Linked DNA regions of Homo sapiens: regions 1 and 3 are each linked to region 2. The links are contacts of gene promoters, found by promoter capture Hi-C in human tissues and cell types (Jung and others, 2019). All regions are on one chromosome and are shown on one strand. The core of a region is centred on a gene start or on the middle of the fragment in contact, and the rest is flanking DNA. Distances in the headings are between cores, read along the strand shown. Region 1 has its middle 14 kb from the start of ABHD11. Region 2 holds the start of MLXIPL (MLX interacting protein like). Region 3 has its middle 10 kb from the start of CLDN4.

Region 1 (2,700 bases), core at 27-2,526, 130 kb after region 2:
TAAAACCAATGCTCCTTTGCCATTCTGAAAATCCCAGGGCCCTTAAGAATTACATTAAATCGGCCAGGTGCGGTGGCTCACACCTGTAATCCCAGCACTTTGGGAGGCTGAGGTGGGCAGATCACCTGAGGTCAGGAGTTCGAGACCAGCCTGACCAATATGATGAAACCCTGTCTCTACTAAAAATACAAAAATTAGCCAGGTGTGGTGGCATATGCCTGTAATCCCAGCTACTTGGGAGGCTGGGACAGGAGAATCGCTTGAACCCAGGAGGCAGTGCCGTGAGCCGAGATTGCGCCACTGCACTCCAGCCTGGGCAACAAGAACGAAACTCTATCTCAAAAAAAAAAAAAAAAAAAAAAAAAGAATTACATTAAATCGACTCTGCCTGTGCTCTAGAAATGGAACAACAAAGCTTAGGTGACTGCACATCTGTTTACAAGATGGTTTGCTGAATATTTGAAGCCCACTGTTGACACCTCCTGCTCAGAAAAAAGAAAAGATTCTGTTCAAAATAGTATTGCTTATTGACAATGCACCTGGTCACCCAAGAGCTCTGCTGAAGATGTACAAAGAGATTAATGTTGTTTTCATGGCTGCAAATAAAACATCCATTCTGCTGTTCATGGATCAAGGAGCAATTTAGACTTTTAAGTCTTATTATTTAAGAAATACATTTTGTGAGGCTGTAGCTGCCATAGATAGTGATTCCTCTGATGGATCTGGGCAAGGTAAATTGAAAACCTCCTGGAAAGAATTCGCCATTCTGGAAGCCATTAAGAACATTCAGGGTTCATGGGAGGAGGTGACAATATCCACATTAGCAGGAGTTTAGAAGAAGTGAATTCCACCCTCATGGATAAGTTTGAGGGATTCAAGACTTCAGTGGAGGAAGGAATTGCAGATGTGGTGGAAATAACAAAAGAACTAGGATTAGAAGCCAAGCGTGAAGATGGGACTGAATTGCTACAATCTCATGATCAAACTTGAAAAGATGATGAGTTGCTTCTTTGTTACGTCTTGGTGTTTTTTGAGACAGAGTCTCGCTCTGTTGCCCAGGCTGGAGTGCAGTGGTGTGATCTTGACTCACTGTAACCTCCGCCTCGTGGGTTCAAGAGATCCTCATGCCTCAGCCTCCTGAGTAGCTGGGATCACAGCTGTGCACCACCACACCCTGCTACTTTTTGTATTTTTTTTTTTTTTTTTAGAGAGGGGCTTCGCCTTATTGGCTAGCCTGGTCTTGAACTCCTGGTCTCAAGTGATCTGCCTGCCTTGGCCTCCCAAAGTGTTGGGATTACAGGCATGAGCCACTGTGCCTGGCAAGGGGTTGCTTCTTATGATGAGCAAAGAAAGCGGTTTCTTTTTTTTTTTTTTTGGAGACGGAGTCTTGCTCTGTCACCCAGGCTGGAGTGCAATGGTGCCGTCTGGGCTCACTGCAATCTCTGTCTCCTGGGTTCAAGCGATTCTCCTGCCTCAGCCTCCCAAGTAGCTGGGACTACAGGCACGTGCCAGCATGCCCAGCTAATTTTTGTATTTTTAGTAGAGACAGGGTTTCACCATGTTGGCCAGGCTGGTCTCAAACTCCTGACCTCAAGTGATCCACCTGCCTCAGCCTCCCAAATTGCTGGCATTACAGGCGTGAGCCACCGCGCCCAGCCAGAAAGTGGTTTCTTGAGATGGAAACTACTCCTGGTGAAGATTGTGTGAACACTGTTGAAATGACAACAAAGGATTTATAATATCCTATAAACTTGGTTGATCAGCCATCTAAGTTTTATAGTTTTAGATCTTATATTTAGGTCTTTGATCCATTTTGAGTAAATTTTTTTATATGGTGTTAAGGAACCAACTTCATTTTTTTGCATGCAAATATCCAGTTTTCCCAGCATTATCTGTGAAAAGATTGCCCATTCCTCACTGAGTGGTTTTGGTATCCTTATTGAAAATTATTTGACTTCATATATGAGTGTTTATTTCTGAGCTTTTTATTCTATTCCATTGGTCTATATGTCTGTCTTCATGCCAGTACCACTGTTTTGATTACTGTAGCTTTGTAGTAAGTTTTGAAAGCAGAAAGTATGAGTCCTCCAACTTTGTTCTTTTTTTTTCTGAGACAGAGTCTCACTCTGTCACCCAGGTTGGAGTGCAGTGGTGCAATCTCAGCTCACTGCAACCGCCACCTCCCAAGTTCAAACAATTCTTGTTCCTCAGCCTTCTGAGTAGCTGGGATTACAGGCTCGCACCACCATGCCTGGCTAATTTTTGTATTTTTAGTAGAGACGGTGTTTCACCATGTTGGCCAGGCTGGTCTTGAGCTCCTGACCTCAGGTGATCCGCCTGCCTCGACCTCCCAAAGTGCCGGGATTACAGGCATGAGCCACCGCGCCTGGCCTCTTACTGTTTCTGGATATGAATTTCCTGCTTCAATCAGGTCAGCCTCTGCTCACTCTTGTGCATATCATTTTTCTGCCTTGTGCATATCATTTTTCTCCTTGCTGTTGCCCATCAGTGAATCCTGCTTGGGAAGGCTTCCCCTCTTAGCTCTGCCCATCTCAAACTTACTTATTTAAGACTCAGAAGCATACTTATAGGTTGGGCATGGTGGCTCACGCTTGTAATTCCAGCATTTTGGGAGGGTGAGGTGGGCGGATCACTTGAGCCCAGGAGTTCCAGACCAGCCTGGGCAATATGACAAAACCC
Region 2 (2,700 bases), core at 65-2,564:
GCAGGTGCCGATCTGTAGCCAGCGGTTCTCAGAAGGGGAGGAGGCGCCGCGGAGGAAGAGGAATATTTGCACAGAGAAAAGATCAAGGCCGGCCGATCCCCCTTTCTCCCCTACGGGTTTTCGGTTGATAATTTATACTGGCCCCTCAACTCCGGGGAACTTTGCTCCAGGGCACTGGGCCAGGCCTCGGGTTCGCGCCCTCCTCTGGGACGCGGGGCGTGGAGCGGCAGCGGGGCGCGGCCTGTGCGCTCTCGGTGGCACTAAGCGGGGGTCCCAGGCAGCGACGGGCGCTCAGCCTAGTGTGGCGACGTGGGTAGGCGAACCCAGGCCTCCCGGGCACCGGCGTAACCTCTGCGAGCTGCGCCTCTTGGACATTTCTGGGACATCCTCCTCCCGCCACCCTTAATGTAGCAGATCAAGAAGAGGTGTCTCAGCAATTGCGGGGAGGTGGACGTGAGAGTGGGCCAGTTCCAGTCCACTTTGGTTATGAACTGGGACAATCAGGGGCGCTGGGAGTATCTCAGGGTCCAGGAATAGGGCGGGCTTGGGCCGGGGCTGCTGGGGAGAAGGCCGAGGCCTGCAGGGGGTCGGGTGGAGTGGCTCCAGAGTGGAGAGTGGGGATGGGCGCGGGTGGCCTAGGGACCAGGGGCGCCTGGCATTTTTGTAGGGACGGAGGGGCTGGGACCAGAGAGAGGGGACCAGAGGTCCAGGTAGAGGTGGGGCGCAGGCGGTCTGCGCTTCGGGGAAGAGGGAATGGGGGAGGAATGGGAATCAGAAATGCGTGGGTCCGTCAGGGGCCAGCGGGCTGGGCCGCTGTAGGAGGACCTCGGGGCTGGGAGAAAGGGGGTGTCCAGGGCGTGATCGGAGCCTCCGGGAGCCGCAGGACCGGGCTCGGGTGGGGTGTTGAGGGCCCCAGCGCGCAGTCCTGCCCCGGACCCCCCCCCCATCCCCACCTGGAAGCCAAGGCCGTCAGGGCCCGGAACCGCCCTCACCTGTAGGCCAGGCTCAAGCACTCGAAGAGGCGTGTGAGTGTGGGGTCGATACTGCGCGGCCCGAAGTCGGAGGGCCCCACGGACCCCTCCTGGTCGCGCCGCCGGGGCAGCGAGTCGCTGTGCGGCGACGACACCATGAAGTGACCGCTGTGGATGACCTGCGAGCGGAGCAAGCCGCCCGCGCTGCGCCGGAGACTCGGGTCCTCCGAGTCTGTGTCCGAGTCCGAGTCTGGGCTGGGCGCGACCCGCGGGACCTGCAAGCCCGCGGCCAGACCTGCCAGCGCGCCGGCCATGGCTGTCGCCGCCGCAACCGCCTGGTCCCTGCTCCGCGCAGCGCGGGGAACAGCTCTTGGCCAGCCGGGCCTCATTAACATAGCCCCGCCCCCACACCATAGGCCGATCGGGTGGGCGGGGCCTGGGACGGGGCGGGGCTTGTATTAGCATAATCCTTACGCCAGGTGAGAACCCGGTGCTCTGGAGCTCTGGCGGGTTGGCCCCATCTCCCTTCCCGTCTTTCCTTGGAGTCCTGATAGAGCCGCCCCTACTTTGCTCCAAAGGGATATTAAGAAAGGTCAGGCCGGACGCCAGGGGCTCTTGCCTGTAATCCTAGCACTTTAGGAGGCCAAGGCGGGAGGATGGCTTGAGGTCAGGAGTTCGAGACCAGCCTGAGCAATATGGCAAGACCCCCATCTCTACCAAAAAAATGCAAAAATTAGCCGGACATAGTGGAGAAAGCCTGTAATACCAGCTACTGGGGAGGCTGAGGTGGGAGGATTCCTTGAGCCCAGGAGTTCGACAATATGGCAAAACCCTGTCTCTACCAAACATACAAAAATTATCCAGGCATGGTGGCGTGTGCATGTAGTCCTAGCTACTCCGAAGGCTGAAGTGGGAGAATCGCTTGAGACCAAGAGGTTGAGGCTGCAGTGAGCGGAGATCGCGCCACTGCACTCCAGCCTGGATGACAGAGTGAGACCCTGTCTCCACAACAAAAGGGTCCCCTATCACACCTGAGCCTGAAAGCGCCTCAGGACCTGGGGTTTGTTCTTTCAGGGGCACCCTCCTGTGAGGCCAGAGATCACCATCTCCCCTCACCTAACTCCTGCCCTTCACCTCCAACCCCCGCCCCCCATATTAGCTCTTCTGGGTCCTCCACATAGGTAGAAGCCCCCAACTCTCAGGGGCCTGATGTGGTAAGCCCAAGGTAATGCCCCTGAAGGGCCTGGCCCACAGGAGGTTGCTAACACCTCTAGTTAACATGGTGGCCAACACGGTGGCCGGGCGCGGTGGCTCTCGCCTTCAATCCTAGCACTTTGGGAGGCCATGGTGGGTGGGTCACTTGAGGCCAGGAGTTCGAAACCAGCCTGGCTAACATGGAGAAACCCCTTCTCTACTAAAAATACAAAAATTACCGGATGTGACGATGCGTGCTTGGCTTATAATCCCAGCTACTCGGGAGGCTGAGGTGGAAGAATCACATGAGCCCAAGAGGTGGAGGTTGCAGTGAGCCGAGATCGCGCCCTACTGCACTCCACCCTGGGCAACAGTGAAATCCTGTTTCAAAAACAAAATAAAATACTTAAGAAAAAATATATATTAAAAAAATTGTGATCATTACTTCACCTGCACAGAGAGGCCCAAGGGGAGCCTCGAGGGACTGTTACTGGTAGGGATGGGTGGCTCACTGGAAGGTGGACATCCCCTAGGC
Region 3 (2,700 bases), core at 69-2,568, 200 kb after region 2:
CAGACTAGAGTGCAGTGGTGTGATCTTAGTTCACTGCAACCTCCGCCTCCCGGGTTCAAGCAATCCTCCTGCCTCAGCCTCTCGAGTAGCTGGGACTGCAGGCACCCGCCACCACATCTGGCTAATGTTTGTACTTTTAGTAGAGACGGGGTTTCACCATGTTGCCCAGGCTGGTCTCGAGCTCCTGACCTCAAGTGATCCTCCCTCCTCAGCCTCCCAAAGTGCTGGGATTACAGGCGTAAGCCACCTTGCCCAGCCACACAGTTTTTTATCTAATGGTCTTTTTCTGTTCCAGGATCTCATCTGGGATCCCATATCACATTTATTTACATACAATTTACACTTACTTACATACTATTTACATTTATTTACACATATTTGCATTCGTTTACATATATTGATTTCTATGGCTCTTCCCCAGTGTTCTGTTTCTGCTTCAGGAGCCCACCCAGGACACCAGGTGACATTTAGTCATCACGTAACGACGGCTCCTCTTGGCTGCCACAGTGTCTCAGCCTTTCCTTGTTATGACGATCTTCAGGTTTTAGGAGTGCTGGTCAGCTATATCGCAGATGCTCCTGTCTTGGGATTTGTCTGATGTTTTTCTCATGATTAGATTAGGATTATGGGTTTTTAGGAGAAAGATCACAGGTAAAGTGCCATTTGCTTTACATTCTATCACGAGTATAGATTATTAGCATGACAAATAACTACTGATGTTGACTTTGATCTCCTGGCTGGGGCAGTGATTGCCAGCTTTCTCCGCTGTAATGTTACCCTTCCTGTGCTGCACCCCTTGGAACGAAGTCACCCTGTACAGCCCATACTCATGTTATTCTCCCCGCCATGAGGGCAGAAGTATCTGCATACATTTTTTGGAGTTTAAAAACTTCTTTTAAACTAAAAAAAACACTTTTTTTTTTTTCAGGCAGAGTTTTGCTCGTCGCCCAGGCTGGAATGCAGTGGCCCGATCTCGGCTCACTGCAACCCCCGCCTCCTGGGTTTAAGCAATTCTCCTGCTTCAGCCTCCCGAGTAGCTGGGATTACAGGCGTGCGCCACCATGCCCAGCTAATTTTTGTATTTTTAGTAGAGATGGGGTTTCACCATTTGGCCAGGCTGGTCTTGAACTCCTGACTTCAGGTGATCCACCCGCCTTGGCCTCCCAAAGTGCTGGGATTACAGATTTTTTTGTTTCTTCTTTTTTTTTCCATTTTATTTTATTTTTTTGAGACAGAATCTCGCTCTGTTGCCCAGGCTGGAGCACAGTGGTGCAGTCTCAGCTCAGTGCAACCTCTGCCTCCGGGTTTAAGTGATTCTCCTGCCTCAGCCTCCTGAGTAGCTGGGATTACAGGTGCCTTCCACTATGCCCCGCTAATTTTTTGTATTTTTGGTAGAGACAGGGTTTCACCATGTTGGCCAGGCTGGTCTCTAACTTCTGACCTTGTGATCTGCCCACCTCGGCCTCCTAAAGCGCTGGGATTACATGCATGAGCCATCACACCCGGCCTCCATTTTATTTTTGTTTTATTCACAAAGACCCCAATAACAACTATTTTAATTTTTTGTTGGTTGGTTGGTTTGTTTTTGTGACGGAGTCTCCCTCTGTTGCCCAGGCTGGAGTGCAGTGGCGTGATCTTGGCTCACTGCAACCTCCGCCTCCTGGATTCAAGCAATTCTCCCACCTCAGCCTCCCAAGTAGCTGGGACTACAGGCATATGCCACCACGCCCAGCTAATTTTTGTACTTTTAGTAGCAACGGGGTTTCGCCACGTTGGCCAGGTTGGTCTCGAACTCCTGACCTCAAGTGACCCACCAACCTGGGCCTCCCAAAGTGCTGGGATTACAGTTGTGTGGCACCACGTCCGGCCTAAAATCTTTAAAAAAATTGTTTTTTTTTTTTTGTAGAGACAGGGTCTTGCTATGTTGCCCAGGGTGGTCTGGAACTCCTGACCTTAAGTGATTCTCTCACCTGGACCTCCCAAAGTGCTGGGATTACAGGCGTGAGCCACCTCGTCTGGTCCCACCAGTGATTTCTGATTCCTCAGTGTGACTGCAAGGCCAGTGAGCCCCAGGCCCTGAAGACATCACACAAACTGAAGCCTGGAGGTTTTTATGGCAGCCAAAGCTTGGCAATGGCTGATGGGACAAGTGAGGGCCTTCCCTTCCTGATGTCCTGGGACCGCATATATCCAGGTCAGAGTGGGAGCTACAGGAAGGACTGACTGTGAGTTCTCTGCCAGCCTGCTGAGATGGCAAAGAATGGGAATGAAATTGACTGAAAGAAAATAAACATGGATGCTTGTTGCACGGATGTGGGTGAGGAGAGCCAGCCTGTATGGGGACATGGGGATGGAGACTGATGCTGGGGGGGTAGTGACACCAACTGGGTGGCAGCTGGCAGGCCCCTGGGCATCCACACTCCCCCTGCTCAGTTGGAGAGAAGCAAGAAAGCATAAAGGGAGGGAGGGAGGGAGGAAAAGAGGTGGGAGATGAGTGCTGTGGGTGAGCGCTGAAGCACACTTCAAAAGCTCAAGCCACAATGCTTACGCCCTGATATAAAAAGAGCATTGAGTTGAGCGTGGTGGCTTACGCCTGTAATCCCAGCACTTTGGGAGGCTAAGGCGGGTGGATCACTTGAGGTCAGGATTTTGAGACCAGCCTGGCCAACATGGCGAAACCCTGTCTCTACTAAAAATACA

What was found. The method cuts DNA at HindIII sites, captures the fragments that hold promoters and counts their contacts. A contact is called where the count stands out against the background at its distance.
Region 1: a fragment that was not itself captured here is called in contact with the fragment with the promoter of MLXIPL in region 2 in 1 of the 25 tissues and cell types used here (IMR-90 fibroblasts).
Region 3: a fragment that was not itself captured here is called in contact with the fragment with the promoter of MLXIPL in region 2 in 1 of the 25 tissues and cell types used here (dorsolateral prefrontal cortex).

Annotation. Positions count from the first base shown.
Region 1 is chr7:73,751,621-73,754,320 of GRCh38, forward strand. No RefSeq gene overlaps it. Among named protein-coding and RNA genes, the nearest start is that of ABHD11, 14 kb to the left of the region's middle. The HindIII fragment of the contact is 3,086 bases long and covers 1-2,700 here.
Region 2 is chr7:73,623,208-73,625,907 of GRCh38, forward strand. MLXIPL (MLX interacting protein like) reads right to left here and starts at 1,315. Exons shown (of 17, transcript NM_032951.3): 1 at 993-1,315. The coding sequence starts at 1,285. The HindIII fragment of the contact is 21,137 bases long and covers 1-2,700 here.
Region 3 is chr7:73,819,464-73,822,163 of GRCh38, forward strand. No RefSeq gene overlaps it. Among named protein-coding and RNA genes, the nearest start is that of CLDN4, 10 kb to the right of the region's middle. RefSeq lists an enhancer at 416-994. The HindIII fragment of the contact is 3,377 bases long and covers 1-2,700 here.